2 separate regions of the Homo sapiens genome follow, and region 2 is linked to region 1. The links are contacts of gene promoters, found by promoter capture Hi-C in human tissues and cell types (Jung and others, 2019). All regions are on one chromosome and are shown on one strand. Each heading gives the region's core, a stretch centred on a gene start or on the middle of the fragment in contact. The rest is flanking DNA. Distances are from core to core; before and after follow the strand shown.

Evidence for each region. The method cuts DNA at HindIII sites, captures the fragments that hold promoters and counts their contacts. A contact is called where the count stands out against the background at its distance.
Region 2: a contact is called between a fragment that was not itself captured here and the fragment with the promoter of AHSG in region 1, in 2 of the 25 tissues and cell types used here (liver and ovary).

The regions. Positions count from the first base shown.
Region 1 is chr3:186,611,799-186,614,323 of GRCh38, forward strand. AHSG (alpha 2-HS glycoprotein) reads left to right here and starts at 1,262. Exons shown (of 7, transcript NM_001622.4): 1 at 1,262-1,556. The coding sequence starts at 1,344. The HindIII fragment of the contact is 10,895 bases long and covers 1-2,525 here.
Region 2 is chr3:186,655,700-186,658,224 of GRCh38, forward strand. All of the region lies in intron 1 of HRG-AS1 (HRG and FETUB antisense RNA 1), which reads right to left. Among named protein-coding and RNA genes, the nearest start is that of HRG-AS1, 8.7 kb to the right of the region's middle. RefSeq lists an enhancer at 1,928-2,447. The HindIII fragment of the contact is 4,825 bases long and covers 1-2,525 here.

The sequences.
Region 1 (2,525 bases), core at 12-2,511:
CCAACTACCTTCTCTGCCCCATCACCACTCACTTCACCTCCCTCACCCCGATTCTCACCCCAGAAAATCAATATTAAGCTTCCCTTTGGAGGGGCCCCTCTTCTTTCTTTTTTTTTTAACCAGTTTTTTTTTCTCTGAAGCAATATCAAACATTAGAACAAATTCACCCACACACAATGATGGCCTCTAAATATTTGAAGACCATGTTGGTCTCCATGAGAGGGCTTCTTTGCTTCAGACTAAACCAAACCAGGTCCTTGTGTGATATTTCCCAAGCCTCTCTTTATCCTGCCAACCCTCCTTGGATGTCACACTTGGAATTGTCAAGGGTCACTTAATAGGCAGTGCCTGGAGTCAACACTGGCCCTCTGTTCTGGCCAGAAAGACACACTGTAATTCTGCTGAGTCTGCAAAGAATGTTCAAGGGGTATTTGTGTCCGTAGCTGCTCGTGCAGCATCTCAGCCTGCGGTGTCAGACTCGAACCCAGAGCTGTGTCAAATGAGTCAGGACTCCCCTCTGCTGCCCTTGTGCACTGGCAGGGGCACTAGGTTACTAGTGCTAGGAGACTCTGGTCAGTGCCCATCTGTGCTGTCACATGCAGGGCCCTGGCAGTGAGGTCTGGAGAAGGAAGAGAAGGGGCAGGGAACCCCACACGTTTTGCTGGTCATTTCCCACCGTGGTCCTGCCACGGGAACCCCCTTCTTCCACCTCCATTCCCCACTTTAGGCAGAAACATCTCTCATCCTTTTTCTTTTCTCCAAGAATCTTCCCCCAAAATCTTGGCATCTCCTATACACATCTGTACCTTTGCTATATCTGTGGGCCTTGTTCTCCCTGTAGGACTCCTCTTGGAAAGCTAACTCCCCCTGACATTGGAGAATTTTATCAAATTGCTGAGTATCCTCCCTTCCCTCTCACAGACCCCATGGCATGCTCAGATCACAGTAGAAGACATTTCCTCTGCTGCCAAACCCATGGCACTCTGAGGCTGACTGTGTCCACCTCATTCCCTCAGCTGTCTTCTCTTTGCTGCTATTACCATGTTCCAAGCAGACTTTGGAGCATCTCCCCCACAGCAGCATGGACTTTGGCAGATTTCTTGGGGACCAGCGATGTCCTAACCTGTTTGCTTTTCCAGGGCTGATGTTTGCAGGGTGTTTTTTTTTTTCTTTTGAACCAAAGCAGAAATCATCCTGTATCCTTATGCAATTCTTCCGGCAGGCTCCAACAGATAAATAAAGCCCACCACCCTCCATGGGTCTACCTTTCCCAGCAGAGCACCTGGGTTGGTCCCGAAGCCTCCAACCACCTGCACGCCTGCCAGGGCCTCTCTGGGGCAGCCATGAAGTCCCTCGTCCTGCTCCTTTGTCTTGCTCAGCTCTGGGGCTGCCACTCAGCCCCACATGGCCCAGGGCTGATTTATAGACAACCGAACTGCGATGATCCAGAAACTGAGGAAGCAGCTCTGGTGGCTATAGACTACATCAATCAAAACCTTCCTTGGGGATACAAACACACCTTGAACCAGATTGATGAAGTAAAGGTGTGGCCTCAGGTAAGTGGACCTGCTGTCTATGAGCTGAAATAATGTGTACATGGAGCTCAATCAGGTGCCTCAAAAAATCACCATCACCCAGTGCAAATGAAACCACAGAGGAGTAAATTCTCTGATTTCTTCCCAGGAGTGAGGGAAGGGGCAGGCAGAGGGCAGGAGAGGAGACATTCTGTATGGCAGTCATGGGTGTCAGGAGGGAGCTGGGTGGGGTGTGAGGTGGTGTGCAGGAGAAAAAGTGCTTCAAATGGTAGTGTGCAGATCACAGACAGAAAGTGTAACTTGCTGGAAAAACTAGGACCCAAGAGACCAGCTCCTAGTTGCCAAGTTACCACTGGCTGAAAATCACGTATCTGTCTTTGGTTTGGTTTCTCTCTAACAAAGACTGAGAATGAATAAAACTAGCATCTGGCAGATGCCTACTATATGCCAGGCCCATTCACATAGATTATCTCATTTACTCTTTCCCGGTCCTGCCTCCTGGTGCTGTGTGGTACATATATTGTTCTTGTCTTACCCAAGAGGAGACCAAGGCTCTGTTGTGTGTGTGTGTGCAGTTTTTTTGTTTTTTGTTTTTGTCTTTTTTTTTTTGGTCCAAAATCATATAATTACTAAGTCTTCAGGCTGGGATTTGATTCCATATCTGTGTTCCTTCTTCTACACAAACTGCCTCCCAAAGAGAGTTACCCACATCCCAGAGAGAAGTCTTGGCATAAACACAATTCACCTCCTCACACACTAGACAGGAAACCAACGCAGCTTGAAGCCAGTGACAAGAAAAATCAAGCTGGAAATATGCCTCGGGGATCAGTCAAGAGATTTGGAGAGGTGGAAAGAAGCTGTCTGCCTACTGCCTGTTTTGAAATTAGATTTATTTCTGATTAAGGACAATTCTTTCAGCAAATATGTATTACAAGCCTTCCTTGGACAAGAACCAGAGATATTAGGTTGAACCATATAAAACTGCCATTT
Region 2 (2,525 bases), core at 18-2,517, 44 kb after region 1:
CTGCTGGGAATGCAAATGGTACAGCCACTTTGGAAGACAGTTTGGCAGTTACTTTCAAAACTTAACATACTCTTATCATATGCTCCAGTAGTCACACTCCTTGGTATTTACCCAAATGATCTGAAAACTTATGTCCATAGAAAAACCCACACATGAATATTCACAGCACATCTGCTCATAATTGCTAAAATTTGGAAGCAACAAACTGTCCTTCACCAGGTGAGTGGATAAGTAAATCCTGACAATGGAATATTATTTGGCACGAAAAAGGAATATGAATATCGAGCCACAAAAAGACATGGAGGAAACTTAAATACATATTACTGAGTGAAAGAAACCAATCTGAAAAGATTAACTACTGTATGGTTCCAACTATATGACATTTGGAAAAGGCAAAATTATGAAGACAGTAAAAAGATCACTGGTTGCCAGTGGTTAGCAAGGAGACAGGGATGGACTATGTGGAGCACAGAGGATTTTTAGTCAGTGAAACTATTCTGTATGCTACTACAATGGTGGATACATTTCATTATACATTTGTCAAAACCCATAGATGTACAACATCAAGGATGCATGCTGATGTAAGCCATGGACTTTAGGTTATAACTATGTGTCAGTGTAAGTTCATCGGTTGTAACAAATGTGCTGCTAGTGTTCAGAGGTTTATAGCAGGGGAGGCTGTGAGCGTGAGGGGCAGATGTAGGGACTACATAGGAACTCTATACTCGCCACTCAGCTGTACTGTCAACCTAAAACTGCTCTAAAAATTAAAGCCCATTTTTAAAGTAAATTAACAAAATGGATACATTAAGCCTGATAAAAACTGCATTTTCTTTAAAAAGTGACTCCTATTACAAAAAAATTAAATGTCATAAAATTCTGTCAACCAGTCTAGTGATTCTCAAAGACATAGTCAGAGATTTACAAAGAGGTCCACTGTAGCATTACTTATAAGAACAAATAATTGGAAACAATATACATGGCCAAAAATTGGGGAATGTTGAATACATTAACACGTACATAACATCCAATATTATGTAACCTCAAAAATAATCTTTCTGAAGAATATTTAATGATCTGAGAAAGTCCTCATGGTATAACCTTAAGGGAAAATACAATATTTAAGCCATATATAACAAGGGATTTTTAAAAGTCCTTCTCTTGGGAAAGAGTTTGGGAGGTAAAGAATGGAGGAAAGAGACTTAATTTTTATTTTACAATATTCTAAAATATTGTTTGCTTTTTTACTTTGTGCAGGGATTGTGTTTATGACTAAAAACTGTATACTTAAAATAACAAAATTTTAAAATCCTATAAAAACACAAAAACATTTATAAAGCTTATATGGTTTCTATTAATACCTGAAAAAAATAGAGGTTATAAGTAAATACATGCTCAACTACAGTGGAGGGAAAGAAACACCTGTATGTACAGAATAATTCTAATGATGCAAAACATATATATTACATATATTCAAATAGCAAAAAGTGTATGAAGCAATTATGCATTATAAATAGTTGGTTTTCCTTATGGTTGTAGAATTAGAGGTGAATTTTCTTTATGCTTTTCGTATTTTCCATATTTTTTGCAAAAAGCATGTGTTCTATTATGAGTCAAAAAGGTTTAAAGAATAAAAATTCTGTTAGCTAACTCTTTTTTCTGATACAATGGTCAGGACACACAGAAATAACCTAAATGCAGAATGAAAATGTGAAGACGGCAGGGCGCAGTGGCTCATTCCTATAATCACACCACTATGGGAGGCTGAGGCGGGTGGATCACCTGAGGTCAGGGGTTCGAGATCAGCCTGACCAATATGGTGAAACCTTGTCTCTACTAAAAGTACAAATTTTAGCCAGGCGTGGTGGTGGGCACCTGTAGTCCCAGTACTCAGGAGGATGAGACAGAAGAATTGCTTGAAACTGGGAGGTGGAGGTTACAGCAGTGAGCTGAGATGGCACCACTATACAACAACCTAGGCAACAGAGCAGGTGAGACTTTGTCTCAAAAAAAAAAAAAGAAAGAAAAGAAAAGGTAAAGATGAAGATTCTACCTGCCCAGTCTGCCCAGATAGTGTCAGGCCTCTGAGCCTAAGCTAAGCCATCATATCCCCTGAGACCTGCACATACACATCCAGATGGCCGGTTCCTGGCTTAACTGATGACATTCCACTACAAAAGAAATGAAAATGGCCTGTTCCTGCCTTAACTGATAGCATTATCTTGTGAAATTCCTTCTCCTGGCTCATCTTGGCTCAAAAGCTCCCCTACTGAGCACCTTGTGACCCCTACTCCTGCCTGCCAGAGAACAACCCCTCTTTTTCCTTTACGTACCTAAATCCTATAAAATGGCCCCACCCCATCTCCCTTCACTGACTCTTTTTGGACTCAGCCCACCTGCACCCAGGTGATTAAAAGATTTATTGCTCAGACAAAGCCTGTTTGGTGGTCTCTTCACACGGACACACATGAAATTTGCTGCCGTGACTCGGATCAGGGGAACTCCCTTGGGAGATCAATCCCTAG